Regions from separate parts of the Homo sapiens genome. Here region 2 is linked to region 1. Evidence: promoter capture Hi-C in 16 types of primary human blood cells and fetal thymus (Javierre and others, 2016). All regions are on one chromosome and are shown on one strand. The core of a region is centred on a gene start or on the middle of the fragment in contact, and the rest is flanking DNA. Distances in the headings are between cores, read along the strand shown. Region 1 holds the start of C1orf56 (chromosome 1 open reading frame 56). Region 2 holds the start of RPRD2 (regulation of nuclear pre-mRNA domain containing 2).

What was found. The method cuts DNA at HindIII sites, captures the fragments that hold promoters and counts their contacts. A CHiCAGO score of 5 or more calls a contact.
Region 2: a contact is called between the fragment with the promoter of RPRD2 here and the fragment with the promoter of C1orf56 in region 1, in 1 of 17 cell types (fetal thymus). The highest score is 5.1, in fetal thymus.

The regions. Positions count from the first base shown.
Region 1 is chr1:151,046,393-151,052,516 of GRCh38, forward strand. It overlaps C1orf56 (chromosome 1 open reading frame 56), which reads left to right and starts at 1,359. Exons shown (of 2, transcript NM_017860.5): 1 at 1,359-2,460; 2 at 4,046-5,028. The coding sequence starts at 1,456. The coding sequence ends at 4,066. It overlaps BNIPL (BCL2 interacting protein like), which reads left to right. Exons shown (of 10, transcript NM_138278.4): 10 at 259-1,328. The coding sequence ends at 295. It overlaps CDC42SE1 (CDC42 small effector 1), which reads right to left. Exons shown (of 5, transcript NM_020239.4): 5 at 4,593-6,124. RefSeq lists enhancers at 1,687-1,736, 2,017-2,256. The HindIII fragment of the contact is 9,026 bases long and covers 1-3,844 here.
Region 2 is chr1:150,360,976-150,366,449 of GRCh38, forward strand. RPRD2 (regulation of nuclear pre-mRNA domain containing 2) reads left to right here and starts at 3,172. Exons shown (of 11, transcript NM_015203.5): 1 at 3,172-3,944. The coding sequence starts at 3,740. RefSeq lists enhancers at 1,467-2,409, 2,390-2,459, 2,620-2,929, 3,680-3,959, 4,443-4,732. The HindIII fragment of the contact is 10,239 bases long and covers 1,615-5,474 here.

The DNA of each region.
Region 1 (6,124 bases), core at 109-2,608:
AGAGGCAATAAGGAATAAAGGAATAATCACAGTGCAGAGGAGATTCAGACTGGCCCTAGAAATTAGGAAGAGATGTGTTGGCAGTGAACAGATGATATCCAGTGGGGGAGAGGGTGTTAGGGAGCAAAAGTGCTAAATGATGACTCAACCCAATCATCTAGCTCTTCCAATTCACCTGGCTTCTCTCCCCAAACCAGAAAATAAAACCCAAGTCCTACCCCCTGAACCACTTCTCTCCTCCCCCTCTCCCTCTCCTAGGCTGGACCGGGATCTCCATGGCTCAGGAGGGACATAGCACAGGACTGGATAAAAGGCCTTAGAACCAGTTAGTGATCTGCCTACACCTGAATCCCTGAAACATCTGAACTGTTTTGTAAATCATCTTATCCCCAACCTCAGTACCACCGGATCTTCACTTCTCAGTGGGATTTTGTCCTTTGCATGACCCTACTTTCAGCAGGGCTTTGAGGCTGGGAAACTGATCTGCTGGGTGACTTTCATTCCAGTTGCTGGGACGGAAGGCTGAATGTAGGGTCATTTTGTATGGGATATGCAGAGCTCTGGGTTTTTTTGTTTTTTGTTTTTTGAGACGGAGTCTCGCTCTGTCGCCAGGCTGGAGTGCAGTGGTGCGATCTCGGCTCACTGCAACCTCCGCCTCCCGGTTCAAGCCATTCTTCTGCCTCAGCCTCAGCGAGTAGCTGAGACTACCGGCGCACGCCACCACGCCCAGCTAATTGTTTTGTATTTTTAGTAGAGACGGGGTTTCACCATGTTGGCCAGGATGGTCTCGATCTCTTGACCTCGTGATCTGCCCGCCTCGGCCTCCCAAAGTGCCGAGATTACAGGTGTGAGCCACCGCGCTCGGCCAGAGCTCTGGGTTTTAATCCTACTTTAGCTGTAGAACCTTGGGCAAATAACTTCATCTTTTTGGGTCCTAATTTTCCTCCTGTCTAACTGGAGGGACTGTGATCCTTCCACCTTGGATGGAAGAGGCTTACCTGACAGCCAGCCTGCCTGCTGGGAGCCAGGAGAGTCAGCTCATTAAATCTTGAAGAACCGCTGTATGCCCTTTTTCCTTCTAAGTCATGTCTGCTGCCTGTGAGCCTGGGAAGGAGTGCTTTCAAAACCTGTATTTTTGCCCTCTTTAGTAAATTTAGAACTGTAGAGGCTAATAAACTGCGATGAGACATTTAAGCTCTGCTCCAAAGAAGTGAACGACTCTTTCACCACCCCTTGCATCCCAAACCTTCGGTTCTGGCAGAGTTCTTGCCGCAGAGGTTCCTTAGGAGCACCCCGCGCGGCCCGCGCGAGCGCGCCTGCGCGTCGAACCCCACCCCCTTCCCCGCGGGCCTCGGTTCAAACGACCCGGTGGGTCTACAGCGGAAGGGAGGGAGCGAAGGTAGGAGGCAGGGCTTGCCTCACTGGCCACCCTCCCAACCCCAAGAGCCCAGCCCCATGGTCCCCGCCGCCGGCGCGCTGCTGTGGGTCCTGCTGCTGAATCTGGGTCCCCGGGCGGCGGGGGCCCAAGGCCTGACCCAGACTCCGACCGAAATGCAGCGGGTCAGTTTACGCTTTGGGGGCCCCATGACCCGCAGCTACCGGAGCACCGCCCGGACTGGTCTTCCCCGGAAGACAAGGATAATCCTAGAGGACGAGAATGATGCCATGGCCGACGCCGACCGCCTGGCTGGACCAGCGGCTGCCGAGCTCTTGGCCGCCACGGTGTCCACCGGCTTTAGCCGGTCGTCCGCCATTAACGAGGAGGATGGGTCTTCAGAAGAGGGGGTTGTGATTAATGCCGGAAAGGATAGCACCAGCAGAGAGCTTCCCAGTGCGACTCCCAATACAGCGGGGAGTTCCAGCACGAGGTTTATAGCCAATAGTCAGGAGCCTGAAATCAGGCTGACTTCAAGCCTGCCGCGCTCCCCCGGGAGGTCTACTGAGGACCTGCCAGGCTCGCAGGCCACCCTGAGCCAGTGGTCCACACCTGGGTCTACCCCGAGCCGGTGGCCGTCACCCTCACCCACAGCCATGCCATCTCCTGAGGATCTGCGGCTGGTGCTGATGCCCTGGGGCCCGTGGCACTGCCACTGCAAGTCGGGCACCATGAGCCGGAGCCGGTCTGGGAAGCTGCACGGCCTTTCCGGGCGCCTTCGAGTTGGGGCGCTGAGCCAGCTCCGCACGGAGCACAAGCCTTGCACCTATCAACAATGTCCCTGCAACCGACTTCGGGAAGAGTGCCCCCTGGACACAAGTCTCTGTACTGACACCAACTGTGCCTCTCAGAGCACCACCAGTACCAGGACCACCACTACCCCCTTCCCCACCATCCACCTCAGAAGCAGTCCCAGCCTGCCACCCGCCAGCCCCTGCCCAGCCCTGGCTTTTTGGAAACGGGTCAGGATTGGCCTGGAGGATATTTGGAATAGCCTCTCTTCAGTGTTCACAGAGATGCAACCAGTAAGTGTTTGGTGATGAGCCAGGGTCTTTGTTGACGGATCTGAAAAGTCCTGGTATCTAAAACCCAGTTGCTAAGCCAGCCAGTGTTGCTTACATGAACTGTTACTGACTTACCTGGTTATTGATTCATAACATGCATTGGTTATTCACATTGTTAGCCATTGATTCCACCTATTATTTATTGAGCAACTACTGGTTGGTCATTAGGTAAAATGTCTTACTGCTCATTAGGTGATTATTGACCAAATAGTTAAGATTGGAAATATTTTTTTTTTTCAAGACAAGAGTTTCACTCTTATTGCCGAGGCTGGAGTGCAATGGCGTGATCCTGGCTCACTGCAACCTCTGCCTCCCAGGTTCAAACAATTCTCCTGCCTCAGCCTCTTGAGTAGCTGGGATTACAGGCACCCACCACCATGCCCGGCTAATTTTTTTTTTTTTTTTAGAAGAGACAGCATTTTACCATGTTGGCCAGGCTGGTCTAGAACTCCTGACCTCAAGTGATCCACCCGCCTCGGCCTCCCAAAGTGCTGGGATTATAGGCATGAGCCACCATGCCTGGTCTTGGAAATTCTCTGTTTTTTTCACAGACAAGATCTCGCTATGTTGCCCAGGCTGGTCTTAAACTCCTGGGCTCAAGCAATTCTCCTGCCTCAGCCTTCCAAAGTGCTGGGATTACAGGCATGAGCTACTGTGCCCCTGACCATAAGACTTTTTTTTCGAGACAGGGTCTCTCATCACTCAGGCTGGAGTGTGGTGGCGCAGTCACAACTCACTGCACCCTCCATCTTCTGGGCTCAAGCAATCCTCCCACCTTAGCCTGCTGAATAGCTGGGACTACAGACGTGCACCACCATGCCTGGCTAACAAGATCTCGCTATGTTGCCCAGGCTGGTCTCCAACTCCTGAGCTCAAGGATCTGCCCACCTTGGCCTTCCAGAATTCTGGGATTACAGACATGAGCCACTGTGCCCGGCCCATAAAGTCTTTTTGATGCACAGATAATTAACAGATATGAAGGATCTTAATCAATTAATAGTTTTGACCTAATACAGCTTAACAGCAACAAGTGCCAAAATTTGAGGTCTTACTATGTGCACTTTACCTGAATCGATCCTCACATCCTATGAGGTATTATTATCCCTGCTTTTCAGATGAAGAAACTGAGGTTTACAAAGCTAGTAAGTGGCAGAGCCACGAGATTTAAACCAGGTTTGACACCAGTGCCCACTCTCTTCACCACTACCATTTGGGAGTACTGTCCTTCCAGGACAAGGAAGGATAGTCCTCTGCTTTTCCCAGAATTAGCAAAGGTTCTGATTGACTTGATAAGGTAGTCTCAATTGATACGGATGATAGGACTTTGAGGAGGGAAAGGTAATAAAGCTTACACTTGGTCATTTTGCTTGTTTCTGTTTTTCTCCTTGTGTGTCCAATACCATTATTGCATACAAAAATAAGTAAGGGGTGGGCAGTAGGGTTGAGGGAATATGGGTTTGTGGGAGGGGGAGATGAAGCAAGGAAGGGAAAAGAATATAGATGTGGTTGTAATTTCCCTTTTTCTCTATTTTTTTTTCTTACGCAGATAGACAGAAACCAGAGGTAATGGCCACTTCATCCACATGAGGAGATGTCAGTATCTCAACCTCTCTTGCCCTTTCAATCCTAGCACCCACTAGATATTTTTAGTACAGAAAAACAAAACTGGAAAACACATTGTTTGGTCTTGTGTTTCTTTACAGAGGTACCTGAGGGAGGAGAGACATAAATCCCTTCATCCCTAAGACTGAACTATGTAACTAGCAGCCTCTGGCTTGTTTTCTACTCCCTGTCCCTCAGGATAAAATGTTGATATTGCTCATTTTCCTCATTTCCAACATTGTTTTAAAACAAGTACTTCTTTTACAGGCTTGAAAAATCTCAAATAAACGCTAAGAAAAGGGAGTAGGAAGAACAAGGAGTTGAGCCCTTGAAAGATGACAGTGGTCTTCTTGCCTTCATGCTTGGCCCTCTCTCCTCAAAAGGGCAATGTTGGTACAAAATTCCATCTCAGCCACTTTCGAGGAGTTATCTTCATTAGCTATATCCATCCTTTAATCCAACACACACCTGCAATGATTACTGTGCAACTATTTTGCTTAATTTTTTATTTGAAAAAATGTATTTAAAAGTCCAACAACTTTTTAATATAAATTACGACTCTCAAACCCATTCCCATCACTTTATTAGTGATGGTAGCATACATATTAGAGAAGGTAGCTAAAGGCAAGAGAGCACCAAAGGAAAAAGACTGTCCAAAGAACAGGTATTAGAATGAGGCCGAAGATCACGGTGACCAGAGATTTCTAGGAGTCTCTAACCTTTCCACCCTATCCTGTTAACCCTTTAGATCTCTAGTATAACACTCAGGCTACTGAGGTATTTTAGAGCAACAAGCTGGGTTACTTTCAGAGCAACCAGCTTGACTGGAACTGAGAGTAAATTGGGAATGTATGACCAATCTTAGACCCTGAAAAATGGCAGAAAATACATGGAAATTTGAAAAAAAAAAAAAAAAAAAAAAAAAAAGAACCTCAGTCACTGTTCTGTAGGGATAAGCAAACTGAATGGGTGGTGGAATTGGCAGAATGGATACCAGTTCCTACATTCCTGACCCCACTACCATAAAACAGGATGTTTCCTGTTGCAAAGCTAATGAGACCCCACCCTTCTTGTCTCAGAGCAGGCAGGAGCTCATCTGTCTTGTTCTGCCTTCCTAATTACCCTGGAAGGGCCAGAACGAAGAACACCTGAGAATACTGAAAGTGCCTAAAAACCCCTGCTCCTACGTTGTTTTCCCATTTAAAGCAGACTCTTCAGCCAGGGGGCAGTGGGACCTGGTCTTCAGACAAAACTCCCTGAGTCTAATGTGTGTCTAGGACTAGGGCACAGAAATAGAGCTTAAAATTTGGGGAGGATAAGGAGTGTATCTACTGCTTCTCTCTCCCCTTTCCCCAATCCTACCATACCCTGTTCATATCTCTACACTGCAGGAACCACTTCTCCAGAGGGCAAGAATGGAGGAGGGGGACCTGTCCATCATAGCAACATGCAAACACAAGCAAAACACTGAATAAAGAATTGTTTGGAGATTATGTGCAGCCCTACTGAGCCTCATTTATATGGGCTCCTAGTTGATCCATGGCTCGGGCTTAAGATGAGTAAGATGATGAGGGTAGCGTGCCAAGCAGAAATCACTTCAGAGAAAAATATCTTGACTTTAGAGTTGTGGTTCTCAAATGGAGGCGATTTTGCCCCCTAGGAGAAATCTGGCAATGTATAGAGACATTTTTGGTTGTCATAACTAGAGTGGGCCAGGGTTGCTGCTAAATATCCTGTAATGCACAAAATAGGAAACAGGTTTTCCTTACAAAGAACACTTCAGCCCAAAATGTCAAAGGCATCTCGGTTGTGAAACCTTGTTCTAGAGCCTCTCCCTGCTCCCGTGCTGTGAGGATCTTAAGACTCCTAAACTCACAGATGATTGTTTTCAACCTATTTATCTCACCATCCTCAATGATCAGAAGTCCACCTTGAGATGGACTTACTCCTAGTTCTGCCGCATTCTGGGTTTCTTTCCAGACCCCTCTTCCTCCTCTCACCTGGGCCAGCAGGGAGGTTGGCA
Region 2 (5,474 bases), core at 1,922-4,421, 680 kb before region 1:
CCTCCCAAGTAGCTGGGATTACAGGTGCCTGCCACCATGTCCAGCTAATTTTGCTTTGTTTTATTTTATTTTATGTATGTATGTATGTACTTATTTTGAGACAAAGTCTCACTCTGTCACCCAGGGTGGAGTGCAGTGGCGCGACCTTGGCTCACTGCAACCTCCGCTGCCCAGGTTCAAGCAATTCTCCTGCCTCAGCCTCCTGAGTAGCTGGGATTACAGGCATGTGCCACTGCGCCCGGCTAATTTTTTGTAATTTTAGTAGAGAGGGGGTTTCGCCACATTGGTCAGGCTGGTCTTTAATTCTTGACCTTGTGATCCACCCCACTTGGCCTCCCAAAGTGCTGGGATTACAGGTGTGAGCCACCGCACCTGGCCCTGTATTTTTAGTAGAGATGGGGTTTCACCATGTTGGTCAGGCTGGCCAGTTTCTAACTCTTGACCTCGGGCGATCCACCGGCCTCGGCCTCCCAAAGTGCTGGGATTACAGGCATGAGCCACCGCGCCCGGCCTTAGGTTGATGATTTCTTACAAAAGTAAACATATTCTTACCATATGATGTAACAATTGTGCTCCTTCGTGTTTACCCAAGGAGTTGAAAATATATTCACCCCAAAAGCTGTACAGAGATGTTTGTAACAGCTTTATTCATACTTGCAAAAATGTGGAAGCAACCAAGATGTCCTTCAGGTGAATGGATAAATAAAACTGGCACATCTGGACAGTGAAATATTATTCAGCACTAAAATGAAATGAGCTATCAAGCCATGAAAAGACATGGAAGAAACTGAAATGCATTTTTTTTTTTTTTGAGGTGGAATCTCATTCTGTTGCCCAGGCTGGAGTGCAGTGGCCTGATCTTGGCTCACTGCAACCTCCGCCTCCCAGGTTCAAGTGATTCTCCTGCCTCACCCTCCGGAGTAGCTGGGACTACAGGCGTGCGCCACCATGCACGGCTAATTTTTGTATTTTTAGTAGAGACGGGGGTTTCACTATGTTGGCCAGGCTGGTCTCGAACTCCTGACCTCGTGATCCACCCACCTCGGCCTCCCAAAGTGCTGGGATTACAGGCATGAGCCACCGTGCCCCGCCTGAAATGCATATTATTAAGTGAAAAAAGCCAGTCTGAAAAGGCTACATACTGAATGATTTCACCTATATGACATTCGGGAAAAGGCAAAACTATGAAGACAGTAAAAAGATTAGTAGTCGCTAGGGGAATAAGGGGGAGGGAAGGATGAATAGGTGGAACACAGAGGTTTTTAGAGCAGTGATACTGCTCTGTATGATACTGTAATGGTGGATACATGCACATTTGTCCAAACTCAAGGTATAACACCAAGAGCGAACCCTAATGTAAACTATGGGCTTTGGGTGATAATGTGTCAGTGTAGGTTTGTCAGTTGTAACAGATGTATCGTTCTGGTGCGTGACATTGATAATGGGGGAGGGTATTCATGTGTGGGGGCAGGTGGTATATGGAATTCCTTGTGCTTTCCACACAATTGCCGTGAATCTAAAACTGCTCTAAAAATAGTCTATAAAAAAGTGGGTCTTTGGCTAGAGTTACAGAAAAAAAAAAAATGTGGGGTCAGGACCAGGCATGGCGGCTCAAGCTTATAATCCCAGCACTTCGGGAGGCTGAAAGCAGGAGGACTGCTTGAGGCTAGGAGTTTGAGACCAGCCTGGGCAACATAGGGAGACTCCCCCTCTCAAAAAAATGTTGTTGTTGTTGTTTTGTTTTTTTAGCTAGGTGTGGTGGTGCAGGCCTGTAGTCCCAGCTACTTGTGCTGCTGAGGCAGGAGGACCACTTGAGTCTGGGGGATTGAGGCTGCTGTGCGATATGATAGTGCCACTGCACTCTAGCCTTGGCAGGGACAGAGCGAGACTGTATTTTAGAGCCTTTGCACTTGCTGTTCCTAATGCCAGCATGTTCCGCTCCCCGTCTCGCATATCTGCTTGGTTGCTTTTTTCTCAATGTTCAGATCGAGTTATTTCTTTCGAGAAGACTTCCTGGTTCACCATACCACCATTCTTATACTGGCGCGTGCGTGCCGTGCACACGTACACACACGCGCGCACACACACACACCCCTTTCTCCCTTACCCTGCTTCACCTTTTTACAGAATTTAATACTGTCTGAAATGTACTTGTTGGTGGTGTCCTGCCACTAAATCCCGGAGGGAACGGATTTTTGTCTGTTTTGCTCCCCATGATCTAAAACAGTACTTGGCACAAGAGGTTCAACAACTCGTTGAATTAATGAATAGTGGACATGAACTTGACAAAACAGGTTCCCTGCCTCAAGAGGCATGGCCGCAGTGAGGAGACGTTAAAAGAATTAAAACTGTATATGTTTAGTGGGAACACAGGAGCCTTTAAATTAGCTCAGAGGATTTACATAGATACCTGCGATAAAATGGTTCGTATAAGGTTCATATAATAGTTACGTAAGACTCTTGAAAACTGTAATGTATTATGCAATTTTAAGATTGTATCATAGCTGGCGAAAATGAGGTCACATCTTGCCATTCTTTTTTCGCCTCGAAAAATTTTATGAGGAAAATTTCCTTTCACTTCCTCATTTATTTCCTTTTCCTGTAACCTAAATGGTCAAGCGGCTGTGAATGTTATCTTCTATGGGCAGCAATAAATACGGTTTGGTGTCGGAGTCTGCGTAGTGAATGGCTCACTGGATCTGGCGCATGCGCATCTTTTGTGGTGCCGCAAGATGGCTGCCAGCCATTTTGTCGCGCGTTGCTCCTCCGAGGAGTTGGGGGCGATGGCTGCAGCCCCCTGAAGACTAACAGTGGTCTCAGTGGTGGGAATTTTCTGTCTCTGTTGTGTGAGCTGAACACACCCAAGAGAGCGGCCAAAAGCAGCAAAGGGCGGGGCAGGGGAACCCCCCCACCCGGCTAACCTTAGTTATACCAGCTCCCTCACCCATCCCTCCCAGTTTTTCCTTCCATCCCGTTACACGCTTATCTTCTGCGCAGGCGCAAAAATAATCGTAGCGCCTCCTGGGCCCTGGGGGCTTCAGAGCTCCTGCGCGCGCTTGTGGTTCTCCACTCCTGATTGGTCAGGTTGCCCCGCCATCACGCCTCCCTCTGCTTTCAAGGTTGAGAAGGAAGCAGGGGTAGGGGGGTGGGGCCAAGTGGCGCGTGCGCGATACTGTTGCTGCCCCTTTGCTGCTATTGCGTTGCAAAAAAAATCCTGACTAGGTAGCCTTGGACCTTTTCTGTGCTAGCGAGTCTAAAGGAAAGAAAGATTTCTGCAACTGAAGGGGCAGTCGGGTAGTATTACATTTAAGATATTAACGCCCGACCTGGCTCACAGGAGTGTGGGAACAGGGGCGGGGAAGGGCCTTAGCACTGAGAGCCGAAAAGTATAAAACGATTAGTTTCGGCGTCAGGCGTTTTGAAAGGCTTTGCAGGTCCTGTTTTCTGCGTAATTTTTCCGTGATTACTGACTGGTTTAAACACGACCCCTTGAACAATATTGATAAAACCTCCGAGACCCGCAGCCCCTCCTTGCAGCGTGTAGGAGCTGCCAGCGTGCCCAGCAGCTGGTGTTCCCGTCCGTACCTCCAGAAGAGCCCAGCGCGTGCACCATCCCCACCCCCTAGCTTCCCTCCCCACCTACGGCTTTCACGCACTCGCAGTGATTGTTTTGCCCGCTCCCGCCGCCGCCGCCGCCGCCGCCGCCAGAGGAGCAGCAGCGCTTGTGCAAACCGGGAAGATGGCGGCCGGCGGCGGCGGAGGCAGCAGTAAGGCCTCCTCCTCGTCGGCCTCTTCGGCAGGGGCTCTGGAGTCCTCGTTGGATCGAAAATTCCAGTCGGTAACCAACACCATGGAGTCCATTCAAGGCTTGTCGTCTTGGTGTATAGAGAACAAAAAACACCACAGTACTATCGTCTATCATTGGATGAAGTGGCTCCGGAGATGTGAGTGTTGGGGGTGACTAGGGAAGGGAAGACTGGGGAAATGGAAGGAAGTGTGGCCTGAAACGCTTGGGGTTTTCCCACGGAGCCGCAGCATTTGGTTGGGGTTGTTCACATTAAAGGTTTGACCCCAGTGGTCCCAAACCCAGACTCCATTCCTAGCCAGGATTGTCCTGAATTGCAGGAGACTCATTTCTTGGGTTTTTTAGCCATTGAATTGTTGTGACCTTGGGCCGTTGGGCCCAGATCCATGGAGATTTACGTATATTGTTTTTAATATTTCAGAGCCTTGTAAGGTGTATTGATTTTTCCGAACCTTCGCGGAAATTGTAGCGTCTGTTTATTTCTTACAGGCCTTGACGTGTTAATGATTTCTGGCTTTCCTGATGGTAGGCGAGCTGTGGTTTTAAGCAGTAGTAAATCCAGTGATGTTTAATGAGGAGTGCCTTGTCTGGATGAATGTATCTAAAACTTGTGATGTGTAGTAAGGAGAGCCTTACCTGGATGAATGTTAAGAAGCAGCATGAGCTCTACATAGATCTGAGGCACCACCGGGTTTTCCCTGTACCTGTGTTTGCTGCAATAAAATACAGGTTTCTTGGATACTGACCAGAAACAACTGCGATACAGTAGTCAGTATCATCGTTAATACCTTCAAATATAAAGCGTGTCCAGTTCCTCTTTTTTTTTGAGACGGAGTTTTGCTCTTGTCGCCCAGGCTGGAGTGCAGTGGCGCGATCTCGGCTCACTGCAACCTCCACCTCCCGGGTTCAAGCGATTCTCCTGTCTCAGCCTCGCGAGTAGTCGGGATTACAGGCGCCCGCCACCATGTCCGGCTAATTATTTGTATTTTTAGTAGAGACGGGGTTTCATCATTGTGGCCTGGCTGGTCTCGAACTCCCGACCTCAGGTGATCCACCTGCCTCGGCCTCCCAAAGTGCAGGGATTACAGACGTGAGCCCCCCGTGCCCGGCCCCGTTACTTTTTAATTACCTGAAATACCTTTTTACACAATTGAGTTGATCTCATGGGTAATGTGCACAGGAAATGTGCTTTTTGAATATGTAGTACCTTTTTCTCCAGTTATGTTTTTTTTGTCTTTATCCTGGAGATTTTTCCATTTTGCTGCTTTACTGCAGAAACGAGCTCTGTTAAAGCATGGATTGTTTGCAGAACGTTTCAAATCTTATAGGAGGAAGTGTGGAGAAGTTACTGTTTCCTGCTGAGAAGAGAGGGTTAACTCATACTCCATATACATCTATTAGAATTTTTCTTTGCTTCCTGCCTGCGGCATTTCACCAGTGAGACCCATCATCCAGTTATTCTGCCTTATTCCACTTCTGCCATTGCTCCTGTAGTGTTTTGATTTGTTTACCTTTTAGAGAACAGATAGATAAAACTTGCAAAATTATAGGCCCCATGCTTCGAACTATTTGTGTTTAAAGTTTTGGGAGGGATGTTTTGTGGTTCTTTGAATAATAATGCAGAGAAATTAGTAGATACCGGACAGAATTACCTGTGTTTACCAATAAC